Regions from separate parts of the Homo sapiens genome. Here regions 2, 3, 4, 5, 6 and 7 are each linked to region 1. The links are contacts of gene promoters, found by promoter capture Hi-C in blood cells and fetal thymus (Javierre and others, 2016). All regions are on one chromosome and are shown on one strand. The core of a region is centred on a gene start or on the middle of the fragment in contact, and the rest is flanking DNA. Distances in the headings are between cores, read along the strand shown.

Region 1 (3,400 bases), core at 901-3,400:
TCGGCTCACTGCAACCTCCGCCTCCCGGGTTCAAGCAATTCTCCTGCCTCAGCCTCCTTAGTAGCTGGGATTACAGGCATGCGCCACCATACCTGGCTAATTTTTTTGTTTTTTGTAGAGACAGGGTTTCACCATGTTGGTCAGGCTGATCTCGAACTCCAGACCTCGTGATCTGCCCGCCTGAGCCTCCCAAAGTGCTGGGATTACAGGCGTGAGCCACTGTGCCCGGCCTATGAAGGGTTTTTTTCCCTTCCCATGAAGAATTTTAAGATAAAACATCACATTGGCCAGGCACAGTGACTCATACCTGTGATCCCAGCACTTTGGGAGGCTGAGGTGGGAGGATCACTTGAGCCCAGGAGTTGACCAGCCTGGGCAACATGGTAAGACCCTATCTCTACAAAAAAGAAAAAAATAACAGTAATCACATTAATGTTTTAGTTAGAGCTGTCTTGCTGCAATGTGGAGAAGGGATAGTAGGGAGACACAGGAGGCTGGGAGGACAGTGAGAAGGCTGCCTCAGTGATCCTGGAGAAGGGATGAGGTCTGAACTGAGATAAGGGGCTATGGGGATGAAGGTGGAAGAATAACTCAACTTTTTTTAAAAATTAACATATTCCTTTATTCGTTTGGTCAGTATGTGAACCTCAAATATATGCTAGGTGCTGAGGATATCATGAAGAAAACAGAATTCCCTGACCTCAATGAGCTCACATTCTACTCGGAGGGGATAAACCATAAATACGTGTAGAATTTCAGATGCTGATGAGTTGTGCTATGGAAGAAATTAAGGAAGTGAGGGGAAATTTTTCCAGGGGGTGTGGTGGTGGGAGGTGCTGAACTAGTAAAGTAGGGGATTGCAGGAAGCCTTGCTGATGTTACAGTTGAGCTTCAATATGAAGGTGATGGAGATCCATTTCGGCATCGGGAACTGAAGCTGACAGAGGAGATGGCAAATGCAAAGGTCCTGAGGCAGAACTGCTGTGGATGGAACAGAGTTAGGGAAGCAAAGAAGTGGCAGCTAGATGAATCAGAAGGGGAAGAGGCAGATAGTGTGCAGGGCCATGTAGAGCCAATGCAAGAACTTTTACTCTGAGATGAGAAACCAGTGGACGGGTTTTGTTTCTTTTTGAGACAGAGTCTTGCTCTGTTGCCTAGGCTGGAGTGCAGTAGCACGATCTCAGCTCACTGTAGCCTCTGCCTCCTGGCTTCAAGCAATTGTCCAGTCTCAGCCTCCTCAGTAGCTGGGACTACAGGTACACATCGCCACGCCTGGCTAAATTTTGTAATTTTTAGTAGAGTTGGGGTTTCAGCATGTTGGCCAGGCTGGTCTCCAATTCCTGACTTCAACTGATTCTCCAGCCTCAGCCTCCCAAAGTGCTGGGCTTACAGGTGTGAGTCATCGTGCCTGGCATTTTTTTTTTTTTTTTTGAGAGGGAGTCTTGCTCTGTTGCCCAGGCTGGAGTGCAGTGGTGCAATCTCGGCTCACTGCAACCTCTGCCTCCTGGGTTCGAGTGATTCTCCTGCCTCAGCCTCCCAGGTATCTGGGATCACAGGCGCCCGCCACCACTCCCGGGTAACTTTTGTATTTTCAGTAGAGACGGCGTTTCGTCATATTGGCCGGGCTGGTCTTGAACTCCTGACCTTAGGTGATCCACCTGCCTTGACCTCCCAAAGTGCTGGGATTACAGGTGTGAACCACTGGGCCCAGCCTCCCCTCCTCCACTCCGAAGGATTATTTGCTTAATTATTCAGTCGTAAGATTTAGTTACAGGCTTTGAAAGGAGGAGTAATGAAATCTCAGTTGGACTCAGCTAAGCAAAAAAGGGAAAATAAGTATTATCTCCATTTTACAGATGAGGTAATGCCTAATGATGACAATATGTGCGGCCAAGCTAGGATTCAAGTCAAGTTTGACTCCAGCAGCCGTGCTCTTAGTCGTAACCATGAATGGACAGTGGTTCCCTGAACTCTTCCTCCAGCTTGGTCCCCTGTCCCCAATTTTCAATTACTAAATATCCCATCAAACTGGGGCCAGCCCCACGCTCCTGGCCAAACTTCCACCGAGGTGCCGGCAGATGGCGATGGAGCCACCGACGGGCCACTCTGTCTGGCGCACGCATCTCTGTGCTGCCAGGTCGCAGGCGCCGCCGCCGCCGCACTTCCGGGTGCCATTGCAGGTGAGCCAGGGTCTCCCGAGAACCTCACCCCCCGGTATTCCCCTCACCCTGAAGTAAGGGAGTCTCCCTCTTCCCCTCAGCTCCTAACCAAGGTGCTCAGTACCGCGGCTAGGGTGCCCAGCGGGAGGCTGGGTAGTTACCGGAGGAGGCAGAGCCGGTCGCACGCCTGGGTCCCAGCGGAGGCCCAGTCGACTCTCGACCCGGGCCCCAGCCTCCTTGCGTGGCGAAGGTCGTGCCTCAGGTCTCCTGGCGAACCTGGCCGCCCGGAAGCGGAGAGTGACTCCTCCCCTTCGTCCCCTCGGTGCCCGCCAGGCGGCGCCGTCGGCTGGGCCCGGATTCCCCTGCGGCTTCGATCCCTTTCCACTGGGTATTGAGATTGGCGAGGGGAGAGGCGCAGAAACGGCGTGTAAGAGAGCCTGACTACCAATTGGAATAAGTTTCCCTCCTGACTGTTCACATGTACAGGCAGCATTAGCATTTCCTGCCTGTACATGTGAACGTTCCTATGCTCTACCCCTCGAAGATCCTGATTCAGTAGATCTGGGGTGGGACCTCATGAAACGGCGTCTCCCTCTGTTGTCCAGACTCTAGTGCAGTGGTTCAATCTCGGCTCACTGCAACCTCCGCCTCCCCGATTCAAGCGATTCTCCTGCGTCAGCCTCCCCAGTAGCTGAGACTACAGGTGCCCGCCACCCATTTTTGTATTTTTAGTAGGGACGGGGTTTCGCCATTTTGGCCAGGCTGGTCTCGAACTCCTCACCTCAGGTGATCCGCCCGCCTCGGCCTCCCAAAGTGCTGGGATTACAGGCGTGAGCCACCATGCCCAGCCTGGAAATAGGAGGAGAGTAATATTGCGAGGGGTTGGCTGTGAAATGGTTTATCTCCAGGAAGGTTTCCGGGAGGAAGTGATTCTAGCTGGGCTTGTATTCAGGGACCAGAATATCCACTGGTTCTTTGCCCCACAGTAATGAATTTACTTCCCCACCCCTATCAGGATGCAGAAAGCCTCAGTGTTGCTCTTCCTGGCCTGGGTCTGCTTCCTCTTCTACGCTGGCATTGCCCTCTTCACCAGTGGCTTCCTGCTCACCCGTTTGGAGCTCACCAACCATAGCAGCTGCCAAGAGCCCCCAGGCCCTGGGTCCCTGCCATGGGGGAGCCAAGGGAAACCTGGGGCCTGCTGGATGGCTTCCCGATTTTCGCGGGTTGTGTTGGTGCTGATA
Region 2 (3,400 bases), core at 466-2,965, 480 kb before region 1:
AGACTGTGGAAGAGAGGAAGGGAAGGGGATAAGCAGCGTTGCCTGAGGAGAGACCGCAGAGGCCCTGACTTGCCAGAGACCCTTCCCAGTAGTGGAGACACCAAAAAAAAAAAAATAATAATAATAATGTTCAGGTGGCCACTCGTCTACCGCTGTTGAGTGGTTGTCCATCAGGCCAGGGGCCTGGGAACTCCTGGTCCGTTTGATGTAGAGGGGCTTGAGCAAAGCAGTTCTAAGACAGAATACGGTAAGGGGCTTGCAACTGGCTGTCAGGAAAACAATAACTTCTAACTTCAGGGCAGAAAAAGTTGATACCAATATTCCCGTAGTGGGTGGGGCTATAACCTATAATCCTAGAGGGAATGTCAATCCTGAAAACCCCAGAGCATCTGGGAGTGGCCTATCATACCAATGCTGGAAACCCAGAGTGCCTGTTTCAGCCAATGAGGGTCCCCTCACCAAATGCCAAAAACCTGGGGGCACCAAGGGAGTGGCCAACAGTGAACCCAAGACCAAGTTGGGGTCATAGAACAATGTGACTCTGGTGTCCCAGAGTTGACGCAACAGAGCACAACTAAACATCCAGCCTTAAACAATTGCTCAAACACAGTTAACAGAAAGTCAAAAGGAAACATAACGCTTCAAATGAAACGTAAATTTTTGGACTCGAAATAAAAATAAAATGATTGGTGGAACAATAATATGGAGTCAGAGAAGAAAGCACAGGGGGGAGAGGTCACAAGGATGTGCCTCAGGGCACTCATACTGTGGGGGACTTTTAACCACTTAGCCGAAGGCTTTTTATTCCCCAGCTCACTAGATGTTATGGAGTAGGGGAAGAAGGGACACTTACCCATCCATAGGAGCCAAATGGCACCAGCCAGTCTTTCATGTGGGACCCTGGTGAAGGTCCCTCCAGGACCCCCCAGCTTGGGTGGGCTCAGCTGTCACACAGGGGGCAAGCATAGGGACTGGTAACCCACTGGCCTGCCATGGTCAGAGCTCACATGAGGCAGTGACATTATGGCCATTAGTGTGTCTGCTTGGCCCTGCCGCCTGCCAGGGAAAATGATGGCTCTGAAAAGAGCCTTTGGTTAGTGTTAGCAGCTCTTTATTGTTACAGCCTCAGTGTTATAGCTCTTGCAGCCTTGATCACAGACCGCTTTGCGGTCTCTCGCTGTCTCTGCTTGGTCTTGTCAGTCTCTCACTGTCTTCCCAGTTGCTGTCTCTCATAGTCGTCACCTCTCCACTGACCGCTGATTGCCACCGTCTCTGCTGTCCCACCATCTCACCTGTCTGCTGACTGCCACTGTCTCCACTGACTTGCTGCCTCTTGCTCATTATCTTTTTCCTTTCATTGATCACCAGATGATGGGAGGGCAGGTGAGCCCCCAAATTGGGGCTTAGCCTTGGGAGGTTCTTAGCTTTGCCCAGGAAAGAAAATCCAAGGATGAGCCAGTGGTGTTAGACAGCAACTTTTATTGAAGCAGCAGTGTATACTTAAAAAATTTGGTAACAGAGTACATCTTTCTTTTCCCATTATGCTCTTCCAAGATCCTAATAAACCTGCAGAGGTACTGGTCCTTGTGGAGCAGGGCTGTCCTATAGGCTGTATGCTCAGAGCAGCAGCTCAGAGGCAGTGCTGCATTCAGATTTATACCCACTTTTAACTACATGCAAATTAAGGGGTGGACTATGCAGTAATTTCTGTATGTAAAGGGTGGTAACTTCCAGTTCATTGGGTCATTGCTGTGGAAAGGGGTGGTAACTTCTGGGTGTTGTCATGGCAATGGTAAACTGACATAGCACACTGGTGGCCATGTCATATGGAAAACCACTTCTGCCCCATCCCTGTTTTAGCTAGTCCTCAATTTGGTCCGCTGCTGAGCCCTGCCTCTGGAGTCCAGTCCCACCTCCTACCTCATTATCTTGATAGTATTTCAGACTACTCAGGTAGAGTGAATTCCATCTGCAAATCACGCATGAGCCAGCTTGTAGTTATGAAGTTTTAGGGGAAATATGTCCCCCTTTTTCACTTGGTACCAAGTTTTGAGATAGGCAATTTTCTTTGTAGTCCCCTGAGGAAGGATTTGGGGGGCAGATGGATTTCTAGGGGCAAGGTGGGGTGCGGTGACTCATGTGTATAATCCCAGCACTTTGGGAGGCCAAGACAGGCGGGTCACTTGAGGTCAGGAGTTTGAGACCAGCCTGGCCAACATGGTGAAAGTTAGTCTCTACTAAAGTAAATACAAAAATTAGCTGGGTGTAGTGGCGGCGCCTGTAATCCCAGCTACTGAGGTGGCTGAAGCATGAGAATTGCTTGAACCCAGGAGGCGGAGGTTGCAGTGAGCCGAGATTGCACCACTGCCCTCCAGCCTGGGTGACCGAATGAGACTCCATCTCAAAGAAAAAGAAAAAAAAGACTAAAGGGACATAACTTGATGCATGCCAGTTTTATGCAGGAAAAATTTTCTGTTAGACTCTCCATCTTGGGTGGTCACTGAGTTTTATCTCCTTTTCTCAGTACTTCATGAACCTGTGAAAATGAACCTCCAAGTTTGTGTGGCTTGGCCAATGCCATTAAGCCAAAAGTGCCTTCTATCCTTTGCCTAGTTTTTGGCCTCTGATGATTTCCCTTTTTAAAAAATCACTTTATTGACATACAGAAAGTTGTACAGCAGGTTCTCAAATGATGTTTCACTCACTGTTGTTACTTTATAACATTGATATGAAAAAATATTTTATTTTTATCATTTTTTAAACTTTTTATTTTTATAGAGACCGGGTCTCTGTCACCCAGACTGCAGTGTGGCGGTGTGATCATAGCTCACTTACAGCCTCAAACTCCTGGGCTCAAACGGTCCTCCCACCTCAGCCTCCTGAGTAGCTGGGACTACAGGTGTGTACCACCTTGCCTGGCTAATTAGTCCAGATAATTAATTTTAATTAAATTAATTTTTTAAATTTTATTTTTTATTTTTGTAGAGAGGGGGGTCTCCCCGTCTTGCCTAGGCTGGTCTTGAACCCCTGGGCTCAAGTGATCCTTCCACCTCAGCCTCGTAAAGTATGGGGATTACAGGCGTGAGCCGTTGCACCTGGCCAGGGGAAAAAAAGGTTGATTCAGGCCAGGACCACTGTCTATATGGAGTTTGCATGCTCTCCTCATGTACGGTAAACTCTCGTACCCATCATTTCACATCATTTCTCTGAAAGTTGCAATTTCCAAGAACCTATTGACAATACTGAGGACTTACAATACATATTTAGTGTATACAGCTTGAACTTGGAGGTAAGTATAGAACCATGAAACCAGCGCTATAGTCAATGCCGTAAACATATCCATCATCTCCAAAAGTTTCCTCCTGCCCAATTTATTTAGTGATAAGAACACTTAATATAA
Region 3 (3,400 bases), core at 351-2,850, 450 kb before region 1:
GTATAAAATATTTATTTAAAATGTAACAAAATAAATAGGGAAAGAGCTGGCCTAGGGAGGCCACTGCACTCCAGCCTGGGCGAAAGAGCAAGACTCCGTCTCAAAAAGAAAAAAAAAAAAACTTCACTGACGCCCAGTGTGTGTGTGTTGTTGTTGTTAGACATATCCCTTGGTTGCCCCTTAGGCACTGCAAACTCCTAAAGGTCTGAACCTGAACTTTTCTTCCAGGAAATCTCCTGTGATTACAGCCCCTATCCATGGCCTCATCTTTCCCATCATCCAGGTTCAGAATCAGTCTTCTGAATCCTTCATTTCCCAATATGTCAGCCTCTAAGTCCTGCTGATTTTATCTCCTCAGTGTATTTATTTATTTTTTTTTTTTGAGACAGAATCTCACTCTGTCTGCCCAGGCTGGAGTGCAGTGGTATGATCTCAGCTCAGTGCAACCTCCACCTCCTGGGTTCAAGCAATTCTCCTGCCTCAGCCCCCTGAGTAGCTGGGATTACAGGTGGGTGCTACCACTCCTGGCTAGTTTATTTTTTATTTTAGTAGAGCTGGGGTTTCATTATGTTGGCCAGGCTGGTCTCAAACTCCTGACCTCAAGTGATTCGCCTGGCTTGGCCTCCCAAAGGGCTGGGATCACAGGTGTGAGTCACTGCACCCAGTCTGCTCAGTGTATTTTTGAGTCCTCTGTCTTTCTCCAGTGAGCCTATTCCACTGTAGCTGTGGGTCCTGCCCTGGCCTAGAAGGATAACAGATCTAGGATGTGGAACCTCTAGTGGTATGGATGGGGTGGTCTGGCAGGGACCTGTCAGGGAGGTGGCCATGCATATCCTGCTGGTGAATAGCCACATATTTGCTAACCCTTAGGCTCCTTACCGTCAGCTCTAGCTCTTGCATCCCTCTGGGTATGGCTGTTGGCTGGGCTCCCTGGGAGAGCAGGCCCTGGATCCATCAGCTGAGCCAGGGGGCCTTGCCCAGTAGCTCTGAGGCCAGCAGGAGGCATCTCACTGGAGTGGGGTCCCTGACAGACCTGGGTGGACCAGGGTGGACTTGGGTCTGGGCCAAGTAGGTCCATGCCTGGCCCCAAAGGCATGGGTGGCAGGCTATGGCTACAGCAAGTGCCCTCATCCAGTGGGGCCCCCCGATCTTGCTGGGCTTCTTGGATGGGTGAGAACTCCTGGGAGGAGTCCCCAACACTCACACGAAGTGGGGGCGAGCCAGAGCCTCCAGTTTTCTTCCGGCCCTTGGCCAGCTCGGCAAAGGAGGTGACCCTCCTGGGTGGGGAGCCAGGCCCGGCCATGGCTGCAGGGCCCTCACTCAAGCGCACTGGGCAACTCAACATACGTTCCAGCGAGCCCAGGCGGACAGGAGGGCTGCGCTGCAGGCTGCGATCATAGCTGCGGGAGCGCTGACGTCCAGTGCTGAGGTTGGGGGGTGAAGTATTCGTGTATACTTGTCCCTCAAGCACAGTGGGGCCCACAGCAGCTGCTGCTTGGGTGGAGGAACTCACTGCTTCTTGTTCCTCTGGCTGGACTTCTGGCTTCTGGAATAGGTAATACTCAGAGGGCTGGCTGGGGCCTGGGTCTGGGCCAGGGCCTGGTGGGGGACTTATCTTGGTGTGTTCCTCAGAGCAGCTAGTGATGGAAGAGCCAGCAGGGCTTGGGGATGATTGGGAAGATAGGTCACAGGTGACAAGTTTATAGTAATTTTGTGTGGCCACAACAAGACGGGCCTGGCTTTGGAAGCAGGCTGTGAGGTCAGCCACTGCTGGGCACGGCTCACAGTGTGGGCGGTAGGAGTTGCAGTTGGCATCAAGCTCAGGAGAAGAGGCATGAGGGCAACCATAGCCCCCTTCCCTTCCTCCACTTTCAGGGTGATGGGACTCATAAGACATCTTAGACTCAAATGGGGAGGGCTGCAGATCCAGATAGAAGGCGCCAGGGTCTGAGTGGCTGCAGAAGGAAGAGTCGCTGCAGGACTGTGGGGCAGAGTTGAGATTGGCACGGGGGGTGCCATGCATCTTGTTGTAGAGGGTGCTGAAGGTGACCAGCACACCATCTGAACTGTTGCAGGAGGAGTCGCTCACATAGCCCATGGACTGGTCAGCTGCCTCGGACTGACTGGATGTGCTACTGCAGCGGCAGTGCTGGTCCCCTGAGCCGGAGCATCCAGGGTTCCTTGGGGATTCATCTGAACTGAGCTTCCATTCCTGGTCAAAGGAAAAGCCAGAGGTATCGCTGGCTCCACCCCCACTGCCACTCCCACCAGGTCCCCCACACTCATCCAGCTCCATAGTCTCTGCTTCCAGCTCTGGCCGGCAGCAGTGGCTGGTGCCGCACTGCTGAGTATCCAAGGTCATCACTGGCTCCTGTTCCTGCCCTTCCACCACTCCAGCCCGACTGCGTGTTGTCCCCCATGGCCTGCCCACTCTGGGGCCAGATGGTGGCAGCTGGAAAGAGGATAGATGAAAGTTGGGCTGGCCAGTGCCATGCAGGTGGAAGGACTGCTGGGTGGCACTGTCACCAATGCTGTCATCATACAGGTCACCAAGTCCTGGCTCACCCACACCCTCCTGCAGCAAGAAGGGGTTGTGTCGTTTGGGGGCTCCAGGGCCTCTTCCATCCCGACTCCTACTCTTGGTGCTGTCTATAGACCGTGCAGTTCCTCCTGGAGTAGAGTGCAGGCTGCTGAATAGCAGGGAGTCAGCTTGTCCTAGGTCTTGATCGGGCTGGGTGATGCCCAGCTCAGGTGGGCAGAAGGGATTAGGTCTTGTGCTCCCACCACCTCCACCTGCCCCTCCACAGCACTGCCTGTCTGGGACTTGGCAGTGCACCAGGGGGATGTGATGAACGATGAGGGTCTCTCCAGTCAGCTTTGGGGGACTATCCATTCTGGAAAGTTCGAATAAGGGCTTCAACAGCACCAGACACTGTCCCTGGAGCCCAGTGGGGCAGAACACATTTCATCAGGAGAGCTTGGCACCTGGAGAGAGAGGGAAAGAAAGGGAACCTAATGTCACCTCCCTGGAAGTCAGGGGCATGCCCTTCCCTACATCATTTTCAGATGGAGAAGAGCCCAGGAAGAGAAAAGGCTTGAGTCAAGATGGAGCTTGACCACACAGCCCAATAGGCAGGTGGGGACGTAACCATGCTTTCTGCATTGCACAGGTGCAGCACCTGAGGTCCCCCTTAATTTTAAGGTCACTATGCATCAAATTATGACAAAAGGCCAAGTCCTTCTAATGCCACATATGAAGGTTTGGGCAGTACTTTCCCTTTCTCTTTCAAGGACCCTCTCCTTGGCAGTAAACAATGACCAGTCCTTAGCACAAAAAAACTATGAATAATGACACAATTAAGAAAAAACCATCTAGGATGTTTAAGGCTTAGACACAGCT
Region 4 (3,400 bases), core at 379-2,878, 430 kb after region 1:
GTCTTAAAGGGGAGAGATGGGTGCACACCCAAAAGCATTTGTTTTCTGCCTTCCGAAGACTTCTGGACCGACAAGCCCAGGGAAGACCAGAAAGTATGTAGCGCACAGCCAAGTGATGAAGAAGGTCTATGACAAGCCCGAGGAACCTGGGAGATTTCCTTGGGATTTCCTCAGTGGCTACACCCAACAAGCCTTGGGACACAAGAGAAAGGCCTAAGCCCTATCCCAAGAGAAAGCCTACTCCATAGAGAGTGGCTGACCCTACAGCAGACGACTGCAACAAGATAAGGGCTGGATTACTGTGTTATGACTTGGTTTATGTTTCAAATATAGAGCAGGACTTGCAGATTGAGATCCCTGGACCAGGAGTGGGAAATTCTTAAAGGAGCCAGGGGCACTGAACTTGGCAGCATACCCCCACCCTAGGCAGCTCCCAGCTTCCTGGAAAGGACTGGATAAAGATGAATAGGAGCTTTGCATTGCAGGGAGGGGGTAAAGAACGGAGTGACAGCTGGGTATGGGATTAGGAGAGAAGCGGCTATAGCTGGAGGGTGGGATGCAGGGGGTATAGCAGTTGGACATGAGGGTGTGACTGAACCCGGGTAGGGAGAGGGGATGTTCCTCCAGGCCCAGGAAGGAGGCTGGAATTTGAGTAAAACAAAGATGTAATTGAGTGCTTGAGTCCAATGTCTTCAACAAGTCAGGGACTGGATCTGGAGACCCTAGGCCCCTGCTGGCAAGAGGTTGGCATTCCTGGAACAGGACTAGACAAAAACAGGAAGGTAAGATTCACTGGGCCTTTTACCTGTTTTGACAACAGTAACCTAGCACCAAAGAGCTTTTATCTTCCCTCCTTATCTACCCCACCTTTCCTCCCTGTCTCATCATCCTGGGGAAAGCTGCCCCACCTCAGCATCTCCAAAACACCCTTAATATTACCATAAAGGGCCTTCCCCCAGCTTCTCTGAATGGGGCTGGCCTCAGCCAAGAACCCTCCTCAGCCAGAAGGGCCTGCTCTAGGGACCCATTCCCATCCATTTCTTCTGATAAGACAGGCAGGCCAAGCCAGGAAGTGGGGAGGAGAAGGTGAAGGCAAGTTGGTGCTTGCCTGCCCTCTGCTCCCACCCCACCCACAACTCCCCTGTCAGAATCTGTGTGTGCTAGTGTGAATTTGCTTGTGATTGGATGACTGTGAAAACACAATTGGGTGGGAGAGGGACTTTGAGTATAACCGGGGCTATATAATTTTGTCTACGGTTGTCTGATCATGAGTATGACTTTGTGAGGTTGACCAAGTGATTGAGGAGTGACTTTGAATGTGTGGCTATGCGTATTTGAGTGTGAATGTCTATCATTAGATGCTGCTGTGGATGCTTGACTGCCCTTACTCACTGTTCCATCAGTCCCTACATCACACACTAATCCTTCCCCCAGCTTCACTGCCCAGAGCTTAGGAGCACATGGGAAATGGCTATCCTAGATGAGGAAGGAGTCTGTGGCAACAGGCCGAGAATTAGGGCCCAGGAGTGTCACAGGTTACACAGTACATCTCCAACTGCCTCTGACTCACCTAGTGCCCCAGGTAAAAGGCACCCAGATAAAAGGTAGGGGAGGAGGAGAGAGAGAGAAGGAAGAGTCTAGGCTGAGCAACATGAAGGGGCCCCCAACCTTCTGCAGCCTCCTGCTGCTGTCATTGCTCCTGAGCCCAGACCCTACAGCAGGTGAGTACTTGGGGGTATAGAAAGCTGGGGGTCTGGGTGAATGGGATGAAGTTGAAAAGACCCAGGAAATCCAACCTAACCTCCAGCTGTCTGGCAGAGAGGTTCTTGGTCAGGATCCCTCTGAACACATGGCCCTGTTGCCCCTAGCATTCCTACTGCCACCCAGCACTGCCTGCTGTACTCAGCTCTACCGAAAGCCACTCTCAGACAAGCTACTGAGGAAGGTCATCCAGGTGGAACTGCAGGAGGCTGACGGGGACTGTCACCTCCAGGCTTTCGTGTGAGCTCCCACCCCTGATACCCCTGACTCTGACCTCAGTCCCAACCCCTAATGCTGATCCCAACCCCAGCCCTAACTGCTAATTCTGTTGCCAACTCAGGTTTTCATCTGGTCCTTGCTCCTAACCCCTAATTAGGGTCATTGGGGATGACCCTAATCTCATCCCCAAGCTATGGTCATAGCTTTGGACCTTTCTCTACCCAGGCTTCACCTGGCTCAACGCAGCATCTGCATCCACCCCCAGAACCCCAGCCTGTCACAGTGGTTTGAGCACCAAGAGAGAAAGCTCCATGGGACTCTGCCCAAGCTGAATTTTGGGATGCTAAGGAAAATGGGCTGAAGCCCCCAATAGCCAAATAATAAAGCAGCATTGGATAATAATTTCTGAGTATAATCTCCAAGAACTTCCTTATTCTCTTTATTCACACCTGCACAACCCCTGCAAGGGGAAAGGCCAAGAGCCAAGGACCCACACACACTCCCCAGGCACCTACATACATGCATGCAGAGAATACATGTTCCCTGCCTCACAGACACATGGTCACACATGGACACAGATGTACACATTACACACGTTCCTTGAGCAGAACTCCAACTCTGGGGTGAAATCAGAGGTACAAGCACCTTTCAGCTGCAAATTTGAAATACAGGGTCTCACAGAAATGGGCTCCAAACAGAACTTCCAGCTGAGATCCAACCATAGGGATCTACTGTCCTGCCTGGTTTCTATCCACACCAGCAAGACAGAATTATAGGTGGAATCTGCCGAAGCCCTCCTGGGTCCTCTACAGGTTTGGAGCTCCTAGAAGAAGCAGGAGGCAAATCAGGAGAGACAGTAAGACCGGATCTTGGCCCAGACACCCTGAGAATGAGGGAGGTGACTCAGTTCTAAGCTTAACACTCTGAAGATGAGTAGAGGAGCCCAGCTCTGAGGGAGCCTCTTCAACACACTGAAGATACGGGAGTGGACCTAGCTCTGGGCCCAGGCACATTAAGAATGAAGGAGGGGACCTAGCACTGATCCAAGACACCTTGAAAAAAAAGGATGAATATCCAGCTCTGAGTCTAATACCCTGGAAGAGTATTAGTACTAATACTAATACCCTGAAGGGAAGTCCACCTGGGGTCCTTCCTCAGTACCCTGAGAGGAGGGAAAGAGACCCACTTCTGAGCCCAGGGACTCAAGAATGAAAGGCCCAGCCCTCAGCCTAGACATCATTAAAATGAGGAGACCCAACTTGGATTCCCAGCATGTTTTAAAATGACTAGGGCAGCCAGCTCTTAATCTGGACACTCAAAATAGGGGCAAACATCTCCAAGTCCAAATCTTCTGGATGTCCTACTCACCTGGACGCCTGTCCACTGGAATCACTGAGGCCAAGAACCCAGGCTTTGGGGA
Region 5 (3,400 bases), core at 419-2,918, 390 kb before region 1:
GGGGTTTCACCATGTTGGCCAGGCTGATCTTGAACTTCTGACCTCTAGTGATCCGCCCACCTGGGCCTCCCAAAGTGCCGGGATTACAGGCTGAGCCACTGTGCCTGGCCTGATCCAAGACTTTATAAAGACATGTAAGAGGGTGGGAGACAGAAAGCGGAAAAGGATACATCAAAACTAGCAATGGATGAATGAGAACATGTCCAGCCTCCAGTTAAGGCAACTGTGGCTTCAAAAAGGAATCTTAAATACCAGCACAGAAATCAGAGGGATCCTAACCTGGCTCAAAACAGAAGAGAAACAGTGGCTGGCCATACAGCAGGACGGGCATAACTAACAGAATACCAGGTATACTGTTTGGATCTGCTCTTCCTTCCATTAAGCCATCCACCACTGCTTAATATCTAAGGAGCCGGCTAAGAAAATCCAGTCACTACTTTTATTTGCTAATACTTTGAGCCCCAGTTACAATAATGCCACTACTAATTAGGTAACTACTTTCTACCTTATCAACTCCTACAGCTTTCCAGCCATTGTTTCATCCCTCAGCGATACCACCTGCTTCCGCGTGGAACCCAAACCCCCAGGAAACTAAATCTGCTCAGGTCACCCACCTAGGAATAAATAAAAACAGGTTTCAGGCCCTTTGTCCTTTGTAAATTCCGCCTTTTTTTTTTTTTTAAGGCCTGTGTTCTTTATCACGGACACTGTTCACATAGTGGTAATCCTTGCCTGACTCAGATCTACTTGTTCCTGCGTTTCATTCCTCCGCTGCTCAATTACTTGTTCAAAACGCAAAGGACAACTGGTAGTGAAGACCCTCCACCAGCAACACTACCATGTGCCAGGCACCGTGCTGGGGACCGGGGATACAAAGATGAGTAGTGTACCGTCCTTGCCCCCAGGACAGTTCCCCGTGTCCGCAGGGCCGGCCTGGAGGGCCACAGCCAACTGTGGGCAACAGGATCACCGTGCCCTTCGCGGCAAGTGAGTGCAGTAGTAGGGGACGGTTACTGCCAAGCCAAAGGTTTTCTCCAGGTAAAACTGGATGACAGAGAGACAGAGACTGAAGCAACGCCGGCGCCGGGCGGATAATAAAGGGAGGCAGGGGCTAAAAGGGTGGAGGGAGCAGAGGACCCGGCCGGGAACTGGCAGTAGGGAGGCCCCCGCTGCAGTCGCCGGCCTGGGTGCCGGGCGGCCACGCTTCCCCAAAGCCGTCACAGGGACTTGGGGTACCAAGGTGACTACTGGGCGCGAGTCGTTTTGTGGGGGGAGGGTGTCCCCAAGGGGGCAGTTTGAGGAGACGGTTGGGGATGCATCTGGGGTGGCGCCCAAAGGGACGGTGGGTGCTGGGTGTTTGAAGGTCCGGTGGACGCAGAGCTGAAGGGTCAGGAGAAGGCCAAGGGTCAGAAGGGCTGGGGACGAGGTCTGCCCAGGGGGTCGGGGCGGACGCAGAGGGCGGGTGCAGCCGAGGGGGAAGGGCTGAAGGGAAGGGCAGGCGCTGAAGGCACATAGGTGGGAAGACAGGCCCTCCCCTAAGGGAGACCTTGGAACGCGGGGCAGTGGGTCTGTGGGACCCTGCCCGCCTCCGGAGAGGCGTTCCTACCTCGTTTCTCGCCTCAGCCTCGTCCTTCCGCGCCGGCGGCGGCGGCGGCGGCGGCGTGTCTCGCCCTCCAGGGGTCGCGTTGCAGGCTAGAGGCGCCGGCGGCCCCTCCCTCCGGGCGGGTTGGAAAGGCCGGCCCCTGTCGGCGTGGCGCGATGGTCCGATCTGGGTTGCCCTCAGGCCGCCCCTCCGGGCGGCGCGTTGGTTCGGTCCGCCCGGCCTAAGGTGCTCGCCCCCTCCCCGGCTCCCGCAGCGATGGGCGCAGCCGAGTCACGCGCAGAGCTTTCCCGCTAAGGGAGCGGAGAGGCTTCCGCCGTGGCCCAATCTTCTGCGGCCCGCGCCCGCCCCCGCGGGGTGGTGCCTGGCGACGCGCGGCTCCCGGGTGCTGGAACCCAGGGAAACCTTCCGCGGGCCTCCAGGGCCGGTGGGTGTGAGTCCCAGCTTCGCCTGAGGCGGCGGTTCTCAACGCTGGCTTCCCAGTAGAACCTAGTGTGGAAACTAACCAAACAACAGAAGGAGGGCTGACCTCACACTGGACCGACTCAGAACCACTGGGGTGGAGTGGGGTGGGGTGAGGTGGGGTTGGCCTCCAGTGCATAGCCAGGGTTCGGAACCCCTGATGAAACGTAGAACCCATGCGCCCCCTGCCCTTCAGGGCCGGATGTGTGGGGGACATGGAAGATGCCTGTGTGTGACTCCTGCTGTTTACAGCCAGAGGGGGATGGGGCAGGCAGTCCTGCAAATGTTATGGGAAACCCACTGTATTAGTCCGTTCTGACACTGCTATGAAGAAATACTATGAAGGAAAGAGGTCTGACTCACAGTTCCGCATTGTTGGCGAGGCCTCAGGAAGCTTATAATCATGGCAAAAGGCAAAGAAGTAGCCATCCTTTTCGCAGGGTGGCAGGACAGAGTGAGTGCAGGCAAGGGAAATGCCAGACGCTTATAAAATCATCAGATCTTGTGGGACTCACTCACTGTCACGAGAAGGGCGCAGGGGAAACCAGCCCCATCATCCAATTACCTCCACCTGTTCCCGCCCTTGACACAGGGGGATTATGGGAATTACAATTCAAGATGAGATTTTGGGTGGGGACACAGCCAAACTGTTACAGGTAGTTAGGCATGAGCGGGGCAGGAGAGGGTTCTCCCCTGCTACCCACTAGGGATGTTGGGTGATGGTTCTGAGGCAGGAGAATAGGGACTGGAGGCAGGGAACCTAAGACTGGTTCATGCCAACTTCCTGGAACTAAATTGAAAGGAAAACCCTAACTTTCCACACCTAAGTAACAAACCCCCCACCCAACTTTTCTGCCCAGCAGATGGGAAATTGGCTATCTGCAACCAATTAGACTGACTGCAGCCGAGTCTAACTTTGCATAGAAGTATAACTTTGTAACTTCACCCTAGCCTCTGATTGGTTGCTTCTTGCAACCAATCAGATGTTTGCACAGGTGTGCGACCTTTGTAACTTCACTTCAGCCTCTGCTTGGCTGCTTTCTGCAACCAATCAGACTGATTGCAGGCTACGAATTCATTTACATGAGGTGAGCATGAAGTGGCGGGTAACTTCTAGGGGGTATTTGGACCCAAGAAGATTCTGTTTCCTGGCCCTTGAGCCGCTGCTCCGGCTGCTCCCACACTGTGGAGTGTGCTTTCGTTTTCAATACATCCCTGCTTTCCTTCTTTTGTTCCTTCATTCTTTCTTTGCTTTGCTGGGCGTTTTGTCCAATTCTTTGTTCAAAACGCCAAGAACCTGGACAACTTGCAGTCAGACCCTCTACCAGTGACAGTTCC
Region 6 (3,400 bases), core at 449-2,948, 370 kb before region 1:
TTTGGAATTTCTGCAGTAATGCAAGGTGTGATAGAGTAACAGTTAACTTATAAAAGGCTGTGTTGGCCCAATTGGAGGATTATTGCTCCTGTCACATGGGGAAGACAGAGAACCTTGACACACTCAGAGTTTATTTCAGAAGAAGGAAAGAAGCTATGAAAATCAGGAATAGTTTATGGGCTGACCCTCTGATAAATTTCCAGGCAGAGCCAGCCTGCCTGTGGTGTGTCTCCTCCCACAACAACCTCTTCTCATTTTATATAAGTTTTCCCTATTGCCTCTGTCATACTCCTCTTCTGCTCCAAATAGCGTCCATTATAGATTCTTTATGGCTAACAAGCATGTTCATTTTAAAACAGTGAAGACTTTTAAGGGGTCTCCTTCTTATCATCATTCATACTTAATGTGTGTTAGTCTGCTTTATTATAAGAGTGATTATTAGTAATCCCTGTCTGAGACAGCTGCACTGACAGATGGGGATTTTTTCCTTTGAGGTGAGGAAGGAGGTGCTCAGGTCCTCATCATTGACTCATTACTGATAATCTCTATGCCTGGAGTTGGGACCCCTCCCATCCTTTACCATATCAGCCACCATAGCAATCTCTCTAAACCTTAGCACATAGTAGATACTCAATAAATATTACTAAATAAGGTAATCTAGTTACATAGGGTCCTTTTTTTTTTATTGCCAAAAAGCCCCGGTACAGGGTTTAGAAAGCCTGGAAAGGAGGAAACTAAAATGTGTTTGGGTGTGTGTATGTGTAAGGAAATGCAGAACCCAGAAAAGGATGATCAGAGTAGGGTAAATACTTTTTTCAGCTATTTCAAATTTTCATTCAAGGTGCTTATGAAAAAGAGGAAGGGAAACCCTTCCTCTTCTCTTCCACAACTTTTAGGAGTTGAACTTAGGTCACAATTACACCTATCTACCATCTGTCACACTGTTTGTGTGGGAAAATGGATTCTGAATTCTGATTAATTGACTTACAAGTGAATGTTTGGACCTATCTCATTGGTAAACTATGGGCTGCCTGGCCTATCTTCCTGGGGAAACTACCCATGCTTTAAGCATCACCAAATTTGTGTGTATGTTTTCTAGTTATTTCATGTGTTTTTATGTCTTATTTAGCCACTTACTTTATAAGTTATTTGAGGGCAGGGATAACTGTCTTTTTGTATAAACCACATAGTGTCTTCCTAGCACAGTATTCTGGACATGGAAGGCATTTATGCAACCTCTAGATATATCTCAGAGCATTTTGTACACCACCTACTGTGGAGAGTGAGGGGTTAAAGAGCACAAGTGTATGCTTTTTAAAAGTTCACACTCTGGTTGGGGAATTAAGTAGACAGTATGAAGTCAGCTCCTCCCCCACACCCCAAAGTGATCAAAGAAGCCTACCTGACATAGAGGGAAATGGGCACCATGGTATTGAGAATAATGAAGTAGGACCAGAATATGAGGATGGCAGAGACAGCTGATGAAGAGACATATTTTACCCATGGCAGAAAAATCTGGAAGTGGTAGCATTTCTTGTTCTGCCAAATGCCATGCCCAACTGCTAGGACAAAACACACGATGCCTAAAACCAGGAAAATCGATACATGAAAAAAAAAAGAATTAAATTAACATTTTATCCAACATATGTGCTGCTTCAGTTCTACAGTCTAGAGCCTTATCTCTCAGCAAAGCGTCCCTCTCCTAGGAGGGCAGGGAGGCCCTATAGTTCACAGTCTCTAGGCAGCAGTACATAGGACAGAAAAGAAAGTCCAGCAGAAGCCCTCCTTGGGATTTTCAAGGGAGATAATAGTAATAAAACATAGTAATAACTAACCAAGTGCTAGGTACTATGCTAAGTATTTATACATATTATTTAATATTTACAATAATCCTCTTTTAATAATAGATGAGGAACTTAAGAGTGAGAAAGAATTTTGTCTAAAGTCACTTAGCTACTGAGTAGAAGAAACAGGTTTTGAACCAGTTCCAGAACCCAAGCACGTAATCATTCCATTATTGAAGCTGCTTTAACAGAAGTCTAAAACGTGTGGGGCTTAGCAGTTAGGGGGTGGGTGATAAGGAAACTGATATAAAAGGCTGAAAATATGGTAGTCATGTTAACATGAAAGAATTTGATAAAACTGAAAGGTAGACCATATGCCTACTGAACCTGCAGCTCTAAGAGAAGTGGTTAAAAAGAATCAAAATATCATTGTGTATTGACTGCCTTTGACAGGTATTAAAAGAAAGAGTTGGTTGGGTGCAGTCACTCATGCCTGCCATCCCAGGATTTTGGAAAGACCAGACAGGAGGATTGCTTGGGGCCAGGAATTTGAGACCAGCCTGGGCAACATACTGAGACCTCATCTGTACTAAAAAATTTTTTTTAAAGTTAAACTAGGGAAAGAATTAGCCAATTTGTAGGCAGAAATAAGGAGGTACAGAAATTTGGGGCATCAAAGAACTACGACTTCTAGACACTAAACAGGAAGAGATAAGATTGAGACCTTAAGCAAAAAAGGCCCAATAATTGTTTTCAACTGAATAAAGTGACTCAGCCTTCGGGCAAAGTTCAGGTTAAAGGTGATACCTTCTTACCCATGACTATTATTCCGCATAGCCTCAACTTTCTTGCCAGTAAGTTGAGAGAGAAGGGCATGGAGGGGCAAGGAAGCAAAGAAACAGGATAAACTCAAAAACTACGTCTAGGAAAGAATTTTGGGGGGCAGGGGGTTACTGATACATGAAACTAATTGGAAGCAAACAGATGAGAAGCCTTATGGGTTTTGAAGGAATGGTATTACTAGATAACTATGAGCCTGGTCTAAAAAAGCCTGTGACTGTTTGGAAATCCTTAAAACCACACTGGGCAGGAAGCAGGTTATAAAAACTGCAGTCCCTAAGAAGAGCATACTCCCCAACATCCACTTCAGGGTTGGTCAGCAAGGATAAAGAATGAGGGAAAACTTCTCAGGAGTGGAGCCAGAAATCACTGAGAGCAATGAATAAAGGAGATCCTCTCACATCTCCAGACCAAGAGGAACTTCATTTAGATCTGATGGAGAGGACTGTGCATCAGTGAGAGATCTTGGACTCTGAGTTGGATGCAGAGACTGGGTAGGATTTGGGGGAGATGATGAGGGTGTTCCATATGTGGGAGGAAAAGTGAAATGGTATGATGATCAGAAGGGTAGATTGTGGCAGCGATAATGATATGTATTCATTAAATTCTATTTTCTTTTCCTTCTGAGCACATATCTAGAGCACATTTCCCAAGCTCTCTTGCAGTTATATGGGTCATGTAACTCTGTTCTAGCCAATGCAATGCTGGTGGAAGTGATTATGCTACTTACACGCTTGGCCCTAAAAATCTATTATGTGTGGCCGGGTGCAGCAGCT
Region 7 (3,400 bases), core at 482-2,981, 370 kb after region 1:
TATTATGCATTGTATGCCTGTATCAAAATATCTCACATACCCCATAAATATATACACCTACTATGTACCCATACAAAATAAAAATAAAACATTTTTTAAAAGAGAGATACACGAGGAAGAAAAATAGGAGGAGACAGGGATGAGAGACAGCTATACACTCTTCTGCCTTTTAAATTTTGTGCCATGTGTAAGTATGCTTACTTTAAAAAAAATAGTCTTAGGGATTGAAATAAAATAGATACAAAGGCCCTCCCTCCATCAAGAGGCCTCTATCCTGATCCTCCAATCTTTCTCACAATTGCTCTCCAGTCCACCCTTCTATATTCTGCTAGAGATACACTGCATTTGTTATTGCCAAATGAACTCCATGGCCCATTCCCTAGATTCAGCATGAGCTGGTAAGTTTTTCTCCCACCAGGAAGAGTCCTTTTACCCACAACCTGCACTGTTAAACTTAACTTCGACTACCCAGGAGCCCTCTCTGATGACCATGATCCTCACTATGATTTCTCTTCTCTGAAATGGAATGTTTGTGGCCAGAGCCTTACGAATGAGTATATAAGTCTATTTGTAGTGATTGTTGGCTCTTGCTTTGTATGAATTAGTCTTGTCTTTGAAACTACATTTTTAAGTATCTTGAAAGCAGAAAGCCAATGCGGCTCAAATGTCTTTGTATCCTCAACACTCCCCAGCTTAGGGCTGAGCACATATTGGGTGCTTACCACATCTGCTGGGTGGGCTGGATACTGAGGAAGGACCAAAGCCTCTTCAGAGATTTTCAGCCCAAAGGTTTCTTGGCCTGAGACCACCATTACCAGAGCAGAACTCTCTCAAGGAAATTCAGGAATACTGAGGTGTTGGTGGCATATCACAATATCTACAAAAGCTAGGCAGGTAAATCAATAGTCTGGCTATGGAAGTAATGGGTCCTGAAGCTGAATTGGAAAACACATGCCCTGCCTAAAAATTTACAAAATACAGATTTGAGAAAAATAAACAAACAAACAAAAAAAACATCCTCAGGCAAACAGCATACATCCAACCATGAACAGCAACTAGTCACTTGTGACCCACAGTCAGAAGCGGCCACTAACCCATCTCTGCAGGCATTCATCTCCCTGAGCATGAATGTGCCTCCATGGAAGGTAGCATTTACAGTCCCAACCCATCTGCAAGCTTGAGGCCACACAGACCAGATACGTACAACCACCTTGGCCTCTCCCTACCACCCTACCACATCAGCCATGGTCCCCTTCCTGCACCTCTGTTACCAATCACCCATTGCCTAAAACATCAAAGATCTCCATTTCCAAGCCATAACCAGACTCCGCCCTCCCTAAATTCATGTGTGTTTCTCAGGTATATTACCAAAACTAGTGGGAGAGTTAGTGGAGGTTCCTCCGGCCTATCTACCCCTTCTTATGAGGTGACCCCTGTGCCAAAGCACTCAGTTTTCTGAGGACAGGTGACCATACAGTTGTGAAGGAGAGAGCCGAGGCATCAGGCTGGTATAGGGAGTGGAAAGTGAAGACAGACTAGGAAATAGACACTGCTTGTGGCACCTTCAGTCCCAGGCTCAAAACACCCTCATCTACAGACTGAATCACCACATGAGCTTCCCTACTACATGTACCTTATGAAACAGGAGGGCTTTGTGATGCAGTCTGGTGGCCTAGTTCCGTCCTCTGTGAGGTGGACATGACAAGGCCTAGCACTGGGATTCATTAGGCACCAGAACCCTGAATTCCGAGATAGAGGGATGGTTGATCTCATGCTAATGAAGTTTAGACCATGTTGAGCCCTACTTTTGTTCTGTGGGAAGTTGGATATCCCTTATACATCTATGGCTCCATCTTCATCGTTATTGTAATTATCTGGCAAGTGAAAAGGAGCCACCATGAATTGAGTTCAGAACCTAAAAGGAGCTGCTGCCGGGTAGGGCTGTGATCCCAACTGAACTAATTAAGCCTCAGATAAGAAGCCTATAAGTTCTTACCGTGCTCCCTTATAATCCCCACCCCAGAATTTTTATAGCATACTTTCAGTTACCTTTGTGTAATACTTTTCTTCTCAGAGACTATAATTCCTTACCAGGCCCTTCCCGCAACATAGTCTGATTGAAAAGCCAAGAACCTCTCTATTTGGTTTGGATTGAGAACTAGATAATATGAAGTCTATCTTGCTGGATCTCGGAAGCTCTCTGAATATGGGGGATTTTTCCGGTTGGTGGGCTTTGTAAGCAGAAGTCCTTTGGTTGTTAGAACCATTTACCCTTTTGTCTGTTCTGCTTTTCCTCCTGTGTCATCCTCAGCATCCAGCAGGACTTCTCTGTGAATCAGATGGGAGGTATAGAATTTGGAAAAGCCTCCAAGTGAATCCAAAATAAGCAGAGAAGGAAAATGGGGTAAAAAGGTGGAATAGGCAAAGGAAGTCCAGGAGAGTGTATAAAATACAGATAGATATATACAAAGCGAGTGAAAAATGTATGTAAGTTTTGTCTCATTTTGGACATGAGAAAGAAAATGGTGTCCCAGCTTCACATTCTAATGTTTTTGTCTTCTAAGTGTCACCAAAAAGTCAGGCAAAGAGCTAGAGATGCAGCATCAACAGGTAAAGTCCCAATCTCTCCTCTGACTCCCTTCCACTGTGGGTGTTTCCCATGAATCCTGTCCCTCTGTGACCTCTGGAGCCAAGAGCCAGGTGCTCTGCCACTGAAGACTCCAGTTCCCCAGACTGAAATTTCCATGGGTGGGAAATCATAACTTGAGAATGTTCCAAAATCCTGTACCTCAATGCCCTGGAAATGAAGAATTAAGAAAGTAGAGCAGATGTTCTTAATTGTATAACTTACTAGTTTTATGACCCTGTGGAAGTCATTTCATCTCTCATTCTTATCCACAAAATGAGCAAAACACTGACAATCCTGCCTCAATCACATTGTGGTTGTAAAAATCAAATGAAATTAGATATGGGACATTGTGTTACAGCGATGCTGTACTCAGACATGCCTTAGAGTACGGACTTTTCAGGATTGTAGTCTTTTCTTGATGAGAGTCAAAGGCCTTACTATTCAGCTTCCTATAGGATGCCTATGAAATTATCCCATGCCATATAACACTGTCTCCCCGTTCCTCAGCTAGGAGACGTTCCCGGGAAGAAGCTGAGAAGCCACAGAAGCTGCTCTCCATCATTAAAAGGTGATCTATTGCTCTTTGCACTCTATCAACAACCAGCCTGGCCTATGATGATTTCTTGGCTTGGCCTGGGGCAGGACTAAGGAGAAAGATAATGGCTGGGAGGGAGACATACACAGTGGAAGCAGGGACACTGGGTGAGAGGGTTGCCAGGGAAGAGTGGGGTTCACATGTCTCAGGAGAGATGAGCTGCCCAGTTCAGTTCT

The links. The method cuts DNA at HindIII sites, captures the fragments that hold promoters and counts their contacts. A CHiCAGO score of 5 or more calls a contact.
Region 2: a contact is called between a fragment that was not itself captured here and the fragment with the promoter of PIGO in region 1, in 2 of 17 cell types (M2 macrophages and M0 macrophages). The highest score is 6.7, in M2 macrophages.
Region 3: a fragment that was not itself captured here is called in contact with the fragment with the promoter of PIGO in region 1 in 5 of 17 cell types (M1 macrophages, M0 macrophages, megakaryocytes and 2 more); the score reaches 9.3 in M1 macrophages.
Region 4: a contact is called between the fragment with the promoter of CCL27 here and the fragment with the promoter of PIGO in region 1, in 1 of 17 cell types (neutrophils). The highest score is 5.9, in neutrophils.
Region 5: a contact is called between the fragment with the promoter of RUSC2 here and the fragment with the promoter of PIGO in region 1, in 9 of 17 cell types (megakaryocytes, monocytes, erythroblasts and 6 more). The highest score is 11.0, in megakaryocytes.
Region 6: a contact is called between a fragment that was not itself captured here and the fragment with the promoter of PIGO in region 1, in 7 of 17 cell types (endothelial precursors, M2 macrophages, M0 macrophages and 4 more). The highest score is 10.4, in endothelial precursors.
Region 7: the fragment with the promoter of SPATA31F1 here is called in contact with the fragment with the promoter of PIGO in region 1 in 2 of 17 cell types (M1 macrophages and M0 macrophages); the score reaches 5.2 in M1 macrophages.

What each region holds. Positions count from the first base shown.
Region 1 is chr9:35,095,341-35,098,740 of GRCh38, reverse strand. PIGO (phosphatidylinositol glycan anchor biosynthesis class O) reads left to right here and starts at 2,150. Exons shown (of 11, transcript NM_032634.4): 1 at 2,150-2,586; 2 at 3,175-3,400. The coding sequence starts at 3,176. It overlaps PIGO-AS1 (PIGO antisense RNA 1), which reads right to left and starts at 2,437. Exons shown (of 2, transcript NR_186491.1): 1 at 2,321-2,437; 2 at 597-981. RefSeq lists an enhancer at 2,144-2,483. The HindIII fragment of the contact is 7,045 bases long and covers 1-3,400 here.
Region 2 is chr9:35,573,258-35,576,657 of GRCh38, reverse strand. No RefSeq gene overlaps it. Among named protein-coding and RNA genes, the nearest start is that of CIMIP2B, 11 kb to the right of the region's middle. The HindIII fragment of the contact is 7,332 bases long and covers 1-3,400 here.
Region 3 is chr9:35,546,015-35,549,414 of GRCh38, reverse strand. RUSC2 (RUN and SH3 domain containing 2) reads right to left here. Exons shown (of 12, transcript NM_014806.5): 2 at 880-2,985. The coding sequence starts at 2,893. Among named protein-coding and RNA genes, the nearest start is that of CIMIP2B, 16 kb to the left of the region's middle. The HindIII fragment of the contact is 7,783 bases long and covers 1-3,400 here.
Region 4 is chr9:34,660,885-34,664,284 of GRCh38, reverse strand. CCL27 (C-C motif chemokine ligand 27) reads left to right here and starts at 1,628. Exons shown (of 3, transcript NM_006664.4): 1 at 1,628-1,721; 2 at 1,869-2,001; 3 at 2,206-2,395. The coding sequence starts at 1,652. The coding sequence ends at 2,341. IL11RA (interleukin 11 receptor subunit alpha) reads right to left here. Exons shown (of 13, transcript NM_001142784.3): 12 at 3,349-3,400; 13 at 2,383-2,803. The coding sequence ends at 2,787. It overlaps LOC730098, which reads left to right. Exons shown (of 3, transcript NM_001320038.2): 3 at 1-122. The HindIII fragment of the contact is 12,066 bases long and covers 1-2,896 here.
Region 5 is chr9:35,488,379-35,491,778 of GRCh38, reverse strand. It overlaps RUSC2 (RUN and SH3 domain containing 2), which reads right to left and starts at 1,668. Exons shown (of 12, transcript NM_014806.5): 1 at 1,607-1,668. It overlaps LOC105376026 (a long non-coding RNA gene), which reads left to right and starts at 152. Exons shown (of 2, transcript XR_929580.4): 1 at 152-348; 2 at 523-660. RefSeq lists a silencer at 1,700-1,999. The HindIII fragment of the contact is 5,552 bases long and covers 1-2,458 here.
Region 6 is chr9:35,467,327-35,470,726 of GRCh38, reverse strand. It overlaps the pseudogene ATP8B5P. Among named protein-coding and RNA genes, the nearest start is that of RUSC2, 21 kb to the left of the region's middle. The HindIII fragment of the contact is 5,907 bases long and covers 1-3,400 here.
Region 7 is chr9:34,727,819-34,731,218 of GRCh38, reverse strand. SPATA31F1 (SPATA31 subfamily F member 1) reads left to right here and starts at 1,731. Exons shown (of 4, transcript NM_001141917.2): 1 at 1,731-1,935; 2 at 2,565-2,610; 3 at 3,137-3,197. The coding sequence starts at 1,792. It also overlaps a transcript of PHF24 not described here. The HindIII fragment of the contact is 7,130 bases long and covers 1,179-3,400 here.